Linked DNA regions of Homo sapiens: region 1 is linked to region 2. The links are contacts of gene promoters, found by promoter capture Hi-C in human tissues and cell types (Jung and others, 2019). All regions are on one chromosome and are shown on one strand. The core of a region is centred on a gene start or on the middle of the fragment in contact, and the rest is flanking DNA. Distances in the headings are between cores, read along the strand shown. Region 1 overlaps TMBIM6 (transmembrane BAX inhibitor motif containing 6). Region 2 holds the start of PRKAG1 (protein kinase AMP-activated non-catalytic subunit gamma 1).

Region 1 (5,037 bases), core at 989-3,488, 730 kb after region 2:
CAGGGCCCCTTGGCCTAGCTTCGATCGTTCGAATTCAGAGCACGTCCTTCCGAGGTGAAGGAACGCGAAACTCCACCCATCCGATTGCTGTTCGGCTGCGGGCGGGTCCTTTGGTCGGGCTGACCCTGGGTGAGCGGCCCGGAGCCAAGACTCGAGGTAGGGCCTGGCGGGCGGGTGATGTCACACTCCTCTGTGACACGCGAGGCTCCTCAGTTACTTAGCCAACGGCAGAGGCGGGAAGTGAGAGGAGTCTGGGGCTGGGGCTGCCTTCCAGGCCCACGGGGCGGCCCCGCTCTTTTCGGATTGGTTACCTTTGGGCAGGTGAGGTGGCTTTGCTTTGCTTGGTCTTGAGGTTTTGTGGGCGTCTTTCTAAGTCTGCTCAGCAAGGGCGTCGTTGGGCAGTTTTTATCTTGGGCCTACTTGCTGGACCTGTGGTAACAAGTAGGCTTTGGTATCTTTGTATATTTACTGAGTGTAGAATTACTACCCGGTGCCAGCCCGGGCTGCTTGGGGTCATCAGCCTTTCATTGACCACCCCCACAACAAAAATCACTATGAACTTGAGACTGTGTTCTAGCAACTTGTGAATGTGTAACCCAGTAGAAGGGCTGACTGTGCTTGAAACAGACAAGGATTTTAAGGTCAAAGGTAAATAAATGGCAAATGGACTTTTCTAGTTACTTATTGATATTTATTTACAGTTTATCTTTTGTATGTGTGGTTTAAGAATTGAATTCTGGAAAGATACCGGAATTGCATAAACACATTTCTTATGACCTGCGTATACACACTTTTTTCTGTAATTATTGTATTTACACTCTTTGGTGTTTTCTTATTCTTTGTGTCTAATATTTTTGTTCTGGCCTAAAGAATATGTTGACATTTAGATTCTCTGCCGCCACTTTCCTCCAGTAGGGACAGAATAGTTGAACCCTTGAGAAATACAATCTGTACTTTTGATCCATAGTTTGCTTCTTCCGTTATTTATCTGGTTGTGGAAACATGGTTTAGTACCTTCCTCCTCTTTTTTTTTTTTTTTTTTTTTGAGGCAGAGTCTCACTGTCGCCCAGGCTAGAGTGCAGTGGCGCAGTCATGGCTCACTTGAACCTTGACCTCTCCTGGCTTAGGTGATCCACCCCAGCCTCCTGAGTAGCTAGGACCACAGGTGGACGTCACCAGCTCCAGCTAATTTTTGTATTTTTTGTGGAGATGGGGTATCACCATGTTGCCCAGGCTTACCAACTCCAGAACTCAAGCGATTTATTTATTTATTATTATTATTATGTTTTTTTTTTGAGACAGTCTCACTCCCTTACCCAAGCTGGAGTGCAGTGGTGCAATCTCGGCTCACTGCAACCTCCGCCTCCCTGGTGCATTCAATTCTCATGCCTCAGCCTCCTAAGCAGCTGAGATGACAGGCGCGCACCACCATGCCCAGCTAATTTTTGTATTTTTAGTAGAGACGGGCTTTTGCCAAGTTGTCCAGCCTGGTCTCGAACTCCACACCTCAAGCGATTCGCCCGCCTTGACCTCCCAAATTGCTAGGATTACAGGTGTAATCCTTTCCTAAAGAAAAAGAGTCATCTCTCCTGAAGAATAAGAAAAGGTAAAATTAATCTAGATACTTAGCATTTTCAAGTTATTTTCCCTGATTATAGATATAGTTCGCGCTCTTTATACAAATGCTGAAAATGCAGAAAAATGTCATAGGAATCAATGTATGTTTTGGGAGGGTTTTTTTGTTTTAAAGATTTGTTTTCACCTATGGCTGAAACTTTTGAAAGCTTATATAAATGAAAGCTTATTTTTCTACTGTAGGATGGAATAGTAAAAAGAGCACTAGACTATAGTGGTCAGAAGACCCCAAATCTGGTTCTGGCTCTGCTATTTAACTTTCTAATGTTGGTCAAATCAATACTAATGTTTGTTTTAGTACTTTACGTTGATTTCACACAGATTTTCTTATTGGCATTCAGTAGAGCAGGTATTGATCATCATCGTTATCTTACAGATGAGGAAGCTGAAATAACCTTAGGTAAAATGATTTTTCCTAGGTTATATAGTAGAAAGTGGCAGCACTTGTGACACCAAATCCTGTCCTCTTGCCACTATTACATTGCCTTTTTGAACTTAAAAAAGATGTATAAAATGGGCCTAATCTTTCCCTTTCCTTGTGGGTTGATGTGTGAGGATTGAAGGTGATACATATATAAAAGCACCTTAAAAGTTATAAATTTTATATAAATATAGTCAGGAGTATTAGTATAGAAGGTACTACTGCTGGCCTGACGAGTTTCATTTTATTTCGTAAACTGCCCAAGGGTATTAATTTTCTCTAGAGAAACCATTGAATATTCTGATGCTCTAACTTCTGATTTTTTTTCCTTTACTACTTTGACCTGGTTGTAGAATCTGGTAGAAATGTCTTCTACCACTCTGTTTTGTTCCCCCAGAGTTTCTAACCAAACTGCATGCAGCCCTTCGTAGTTTTTATACACATTTTGTTTTCCAAAGATGGTGTTCGAGACCAAGGAGAGAAAGGCTGTCTCCTTGACTTAAAGGTTACCTAAGTGACCCCTTGAGGTAGGTTCCACTCTGAGCCAGCTGGGGAATGTTGATTTGAGGTTACAGCACTCTTGATCTGATAATAGGGTCTAAATTTGCTCTAGAGACTTTGTAGTGCTTAAATCTTGGGGATAGCTGAGCTGAACCAGATGCAAGCTCTGCCCTCAGGGTGAGAAGTTTCTGCACAATTAACTGGAATCCAAAACACGTGAAAAAGGAGCTTCACCAGTGAGGGTGAAGTGGGTATGCTGTTTGTCTTAATTTATGTGTGCTCCCCATTTGGGCTAAATATGGTGTTATTAGGGAGGGATTACTGGTTTATACTGGAAGAAGATTATGTATTTAGGATTTTGGGGCCTTCTTAGGATTCAGTATCTGTCAAACGTTATAGAGAGGGAGATGAAGTAGTGTCAACGTTTGGTACAAAAAATAATTTACTGAAGGCAGTAGGCATTTCATCTCCAGTTACTGGTTTGGTTTTGAGGCAGCCCCCTGGAGGAGATGGATTCAGTATTAGCTAATCCAGGGATTTGGGTCCAAGTTAAGGGAGAGGCGGGGACATCTAGGGTGTCCACCTGGGAAGATCAAAGCTTGGTCCTAGTTGAATGAAACAATTCCTTGGATGGTTCCGAAACTGAACTGACCTACCTCCTGGGAGTGGCAGGGAAAGCATCAAGCTTTTGCGCATTTACTTCATCAAATCCTTTACCATATCAGATTATCACTTAGTGGCTATTAGGCTGTCTCAAAATGTCCATGGCCCTGTGGGACAAGAGAGATAGTATAAATGTGCTAGAAGAAAGGTATGCCATTTAAACAAAAGTACAGACGGGCCCCAATTTATGATGATTGGACTTAATGATTTTTTACTTTATAATGATGCAAAAGTGCTACCTGTTTGCTAGAAACTGTACTTCAGGCCAGGCATGGTGGCTCATGCCTGTAATCCCAGCACTTTGGGAGGCCGAGGTGGGCAGATCACTTGAGGTCAGGAGTTTGAGACCAGCCTGGCCAACATGGCAAAACCCTGTATCTACTTAAAATACAAAAATTAGCTGGGCATGGTGGCACACACCTGTAATCCCAGCTACTTGGGAGGCTGAGGCATGATAATCACTTGAACCCAGGAGGCAGAGGTTGCAGTGAGCTGAGATCGTGCCACTGCACTCCAGCCTGGGCAACAGAGCGAGACTCTGTCTCAAAAAAAAAAACCCAGCACATTTAGAATTTCCATCTTTTCCCAGACTAGGGATATCTGGTATGATATTTTCACATGAGATATTTAACACTTTATTATAAAGTAGGCTTTGCGTTAGATAGTTTTGCCCAACTTCAGACTAATGTAAGCGTTCTGGGCACATTTAAGGTAAGGTAGGCTAGGCTTAAGCTATAATGTTTGGTAGGTTATATGTAGTAAGTGCATAAATTACGATACTTTCAGTTTACAATGGGATTATTGGGATGTAACTTCATTGTAAATCGAGCATCTATACTTTTACCAGTAATGAGATTTTTCAAGTGCCTTTATGTTTCAGTTTATAATTTTCTTTTCTCTCTTTTTTTTTTTTTCTTTTTTGAGACAGAGTCTCACTCTGTCGCCCAGGCTGGAGTGCAGTGGTGCAATCTCGGCTCACTGCAACCTCCGCCTCCTGGGTTCAAGCCATTCTCCTGCCTCAGCCTCCCAAGTAGCTGGGATTATAGGCGCCCACCACCACGCCTGGCTAATTTTTTGTATTTTTAGTAGAGATGGGGTTTCATTGTGTTGGCTGGGCTGGTCTCGAACTCCTGACCTCAAGTGATCCGCCTGCCTCAGCCTCCCAAAGTGCTGGGATTACAGGCTAAAACTAGACTTTTAAAAGAGAATAATCTACTGAAGATATTGTAGTAATGAGTACACCAGTAATAACAATGTTAGTACACCAGTAATAACAATGGTTACCATGTATTGAACTCATTCTATGTACAAAGAGCTATTTTAAGAACTTTATTTGTATTATCTCACCTAATCTGCAACCTTAGGAAATAAGGATTGTTATGTACTAGTATTTTACACATGGTAGGTGAAACTGAAGTACAGTGAGGTTAAGTGCCAGCAGCTTGCTGCATGTCCCACTGCTAAGGAAATAACTAGGATTCAGAAGTAGCAGGCAGTCTTAACCACTATGCAGGGGACATGGTTATACAGTGTATGAACATTACTCAGTAGTAAAAACTAATGAATGGAAAGCTTTCTTGGCCAAAAACACAGAAGAAGAAGAAGAAGAAGAAAAAAAACTACTGACAAATTACTAACAGTTCTTCCCCCTCCTTTTTTTGTTTTTGTTTTTTTGAGACAGAGTCTGGCTCTGTCACCCAGGCTGGAGTGCAGTAGCGCAATCTCGGCTCACTGCAAACTCTGCCTCCTGGGTTCAAACGATTTTCCTTCCCTAGCCTCCTGAGTAGCTGGGATTACAGGCGCCCACCACCACATCT
Region 2 (4,746 bases), core at 641-3,140:
AACCTGATCTTAGCCTGCTTTTCCAGTCTTTTCTCCCACTGTGACCAAAATCCAAAGCCAGCAACATCATGCCGCTGGCTCACCCCCAGTTCTCTACATACCCCAATTTCAGTGCCCTTGCTCACACTGTTCTCTCAATTTGCAGTGCCCTCTCCTAGGTCCAAAGTAATTTTTCTCTCAGCTATTCTGTCACAGTCCTCTGTTTTCATATTGATGACAGCATTTATTATAGTCTACCTTTAAATAACAGCTGTTGCTGGCTTGCCCTCACCATCACTCCAGTTAGGCTGAACATTTTCAAAGCAGGAGTTTTCTTTCTTTTCTTTTTTTTTGGAGACAGGATCTCACTGTGTCACTCAGACTGGAGTGCAGTGGCATGATCTCAGCTCACTCCAGCCTCCACCTCTTTGGATCAAGCGATCCTCCCACCTGAGCCTCCCGAGTAGCTGGGACTACAGGCACACACCACCACCACCACGCCTGGGTAATTTTTGTATTTTTGTTTCTGTCGAGACAGGCTTTCATCATGTTGCCCAGGCTGATGCTGAACTCCTGAGCTCAAGCAATCCACTTGCCTTGGCCTCCCAAAGTACTGGCATTACAGGCGTGAGCCACCACACCTGGCTGAGTTTTCTTTTTCCTCTTTTTAACTTCTACCCCAGAGCCTAATCCAGTACATAAAGTGTAAAGGCTAAATTAGAAAATCTATATAAAAATGCTTTGTAAACCATAATACATTTACAAGTAAGTAGAATATGACATGTCATTTTAAATTTAATGGAATTAGACTCCTTATTTTTGTTTAAGATTATCCTGATTAGTCAGAATTGGCTCCCTTGCCTGGGAGACCAACTGCGAATCATTTTAGTACTTTGGTCGGTTTTCTTTTTGAAAACCTGAAAGAAACAACCTCTCTGTGAGCAGAGAAACGGTGTGGCAAAGAATTACTCTGGGCATGTAATCCAAAGCAAAGTGAACCTGCAGTCCTTTCGTAACTACAGTAGCAGATGATAAAAACCAAGATGGAAAGAGTTACTCTGCCTGAAAGAAGACACATGGTTAAAAACTGTGGAGAGGGAAGTGTATGGGAGGGGTTACAGAGCGCTAGAAAAAGACTCCTGAGAGTGAGGGTGGGTGCAAACATGTAGCAGGCAACCCGCAGCATCTGTGGGAGGGTGACAGGGCCCTGCCACAATTGGTCAATGCCTGCTCGCCAAGAATGAGCTATGCCAAAACCCCTGCTTAGAGTCGCAGAGCGGGCCATGACCTAAAATTGTCCAGGGACACATCGGCCTCTAACACTGCAAGATTTCCTCTTTCAAGCAAACCTCAATTCTCGGTCTTATTAAGGGAATGTGACTTCACTGGACGCAGTATAAAGATCTTCAGATGTCCTCCTGCCGGGGATTGCAGGGATCACAGAAAGACCATCGAGGTCCAGGAGCTACCTGCAAGCGGAGATCCCTCTGGACGCCCCGTGCCTCACCCAGCAAAGCCGGCTCACAACCCTGCGCTCTCAAACCTCTAAAAGGGCTTGAGGTGCCAATAGGAAAGGAGGCCCGAGATTGCCACGGCATACGTGGGCCCCAAGGAGGGAGCCAGGAGTCACTGCCTGCTTGGGCTAAGGGTACCGCGTACGGAAAGGCGGCGGGGACGCGGCCCAGTTCCAGGAGATGCGCCCAACGAAGAAGCGGAGGAACAGGGTCACGGGATAGGGCAGACACCCGGCTGCTTTTTGTTTGCTAGACACCAGCGCCAGCCCCTGCCCGGCCCTCCCGGTCTCCTAAGGGTTGGGGGGGTGTCTTAGGCTCCACAGCGCCCCCGACCGCCCTCCTGCACTCCTCACCGTCTCCATTGCAAGAGGCGCCCGGCTTGGTTTCCTCGCTTTAGGAAACTCTCTTGGGGCAGGCCCCGCCCCACATCCGGTGCGGCGACGCCACTTCCGCCCACGTCATGGCAGTCGCCAGACTGGGGCGGAAGGCAAGGAACCCACCCTTCCGGCGGTGGCGGGCCTCGGTAACCGCCCTCCCCCGGGTCCTCGCGGACCGCACGGATCCGGCTGACGGCGAGGGTCATGGGACGGAGCCGCTTGTATTTAAAATGTTCTTTTTTTATTTGTCGTTTAAAAACAAACTTGGAAGAAGCAAAATCCAAAACTTGCCCTTTGCCTCTCGCAACATAAATATGTACAGTTCAGAATGATCGCTGATACAAAACATGCCAAGGACAGGGGCGCTGAGGGTGGAGGGAGAGAGGGCGCTTTAAAAAAGGGAACCATTTCATCCGTTGTTACGAAGGACCAACCTTGCTGTACAGGATACACACAACACAAAATAAAGTCTTCACGGGATTCACACTTGTCAGCGATTTATTTTTTAAAAAGGGGGAGGGTCCTGGAGGTGAGGGGAGAAGACTGTAAAGGGGAAAACTGAAAACTGAGTATGTGCGAGTGTAAACCAACCCAAAATACAAACACGGGGGCGGGGGGTGGGGTGGGGGATTCTGATGCAATTATACAGGCAGGGTACTTAAAAAAAAAACCAACCAAAATTCCAACCTTGTAGCTTGGGTCTGAGTTATAGTTTATATAAAAATTAAAAACTGTATAAGGTTTCTTCACTAAATTCTACAGGACTATCGGATACCTAGCATATGCTTACAAAGTCTGCCCCATCCCCTTTTCCCAATCCCAGGGCCCAAGCCCCAAACACAGCCTGACTCACGGGAGCCAATCTCCCCCTCCCTGTAGCCTAGACCTTCTGCTCTCGGAAAAGGAACATCCAAGGGCTGTGGCTTTGAGGGCAGCAGCCCAGTCTTCCTACTGTCTGATTTAATTACAGCGGTTCCTGTGGGAGTGGGGGCTGTTATTCTCTTAAACATTTGCAGCTTGAAACAGTTGAGGAAGCAGCTTTAAAAAAAAAAAATCTCCCTACCCCCAACAATCCACAACCCCCCAAATTCAAAACAAAACAAAAACAAACCTAAAATCACAACAGCGACCAAGCTCCCCCTCCAGCAGGCCCGCCCGTCCACCACCACCAAGCCCACCCCTACACTCCAGACATCTGATTCTTGAAAATATTAATTACAAAATGCCCTTTGCCCACAGCCCCTAGAAGAGAACTGCATATAAGCTTCATCTTCATCCCCACGGTTCCCTACCAGAGAGGGGTTTGGGGCCTCACCCACCCCTTACCTACTCCCACCCCCAGGAAGAGGTTCAACTGCAGCACAAGCTTGGGCAGAAAGGGGAAGGAAAGGGAGGCAAGGAACCCATCACCCTCTGGCTCCCCCTGGGGTCAGCTCTCTTTTGTGCGTTATAACATAGTCCAACTATACAACAGGGGGTGGGAATTGCCCAGCCTCTATACCCCCATCTTACAGCAGTCACAGCCAGGGGGTGGGGAGTGGGGTGGGGGGTGAGGAAAAGGGCGGTAGGTCGGGTAATGGAGGGGGCCCCCCCACAAGGGGAGCTCCATGTGTCCGCCCCACACCCCCCTACCATTTATAAACTGGTTTTGTAAAAAGAAAATAGATATATTTATATAGAATATATAAAGCACAAAAATTAGTAGTTTTACATTTGCTCTCCCCGGGGGGTGGGGGGAGAGGGGAGGGTTCTCACCTCCAGCCGGCTCCCCCATGCCCCACAAGACTATGTACAATCCCATGTATAAATAGATAAATACCCCCCACCCTCCCCGCGCTGACACTAAGCTCCCCCACCCCCACATCACCACCCCTTCCCACCAGACCAGCAGCAGTTTGGTGACTGAGGGAAAGTGGGAGCTCCGGGCCACACCCTGCCTCACTAGGTATGGGCATGCCACTCAGGGATAGCCCTCACCCTACCCCCCACCCAACCCGTCCAGGGGCTGGAGGGCAAACAGGCTCATGATGAGGTTGGGAAAACAGGAGGGAGATATCCTGGTCCTAGGTTTAGCTCCCTCCTGCCCCCATGTCCAGATGGAGAAGGAAGTCCTAGAGCAACTAGGGGCCAGTCATCCCCAATCTTCATCATCATTTGCCTCAACCACCATCCCATGCCCATAATTAAAAACAAAGATGGATTTTTTGTTGTTGTTTTTCTTCCTCCTCCTACCCCCCTTCCACCCACTCAGAAGAGGGCAGTGAGGTGGGGGAGAGGGTTGGGGCAGTAGGGGGCTTGGAGAGGGTCTCACATTTCAAAACAGCAAAAAATCCAACACTTAAATGAGGTAGGTGTGGGTGCGGGGTCTCCTTGCCCGGCTTGCCCAGCTTGCCCTCCTAGGCAGCTGGGCGCCTCTTTCCCGTTCATGTTGCATTTGTCAGAGTGGAAAACAAGGAAACACAACCCATAGAGAGACAGAAACACAGAGGAAAAGAGGGAAACAGAGACAGATCAAGAGGGAGGGGGATGGGGGTGAGGGTGGGGGCAGGACCCGGCAGGCAGGGCCAGGTGTGGGACCCGGCCTTTGGGATTGTCAAGCTTAGTCAAGTCTCTTTGCAGCCGTGAGTTGGGCCGGAGAGGTCAGTGGGAGCAGCAGGGCTGTGAGGCCCGGCCACACATCCTCTTCCCCCACCCTGCTGCCTCCCAGATGCTTCTGGGTAGTTCCCGGCCCATATCCCCCTCAAACCTGAGATGCCCAATGGCTGCTTCTGTCTGGCCCCTCCTGGAGCTGGGGGCAGAGATGCCAGCCTGAGGGCCGGTGGTGGGGAAGAGGATTGTCCCTGGTGCCCAGGGTGGGCTTGGCCTAGGGCCCTCTG

What was found. Contacts are between HindIII fragments. The study calls those that stand out against the background at their distance.
Region 1: a contact is called between a fragment that was not itself captured here and the fragment with the promoter of PRKAG1 in region 2, in 1 of the 25 tissues and cell types used here (hippocampus).

What each region holds. Positions count from the first base shown.
Region 1 is chr12:49,741,960-49,746,996 of GRCh38, forward strand. All of the region lies in intron 1 of TMBIM6 (transmembrane BAX inhibitor motif containing 6), which reads left to right. Among named protein-coding and RNA genes, the nearest start is that of TMBIM6, 2.9 kb to the left of the region's middle. The HindIII fragment of the contact is 3,558 bases long and covers 460-4,017 here.
Region 2 is chr12:49,016,886-49,021,631 of GRCh38, forward strand. PRKAG1 (protein kinase AMP-activated non-catalytic subunit gamma 1) reads right to left here and starts at 1,891. Exons shown (of 12, transcript NM_002733.5): 1 at 1,847-1,891. The coding sequence starts at 1,855. KMT2D (lysine methyltransferase 2D) reads right to left here. Exons shown (of 55, transcript NM_003482.4): 55 at 2,093-4,746. It overlaps DDN-AS1 (DDN and PRKAG1 antisense RNA 1), which reads left to right. Exons shown (of 2, transcript NR_147179.1): 2 at 1,351-2,355. RefSeq lists enhancers at 932-1,522, 2,095-2,294. The HindIII fragment of the contact is 13,264 bases long and covers 1-3,852 here.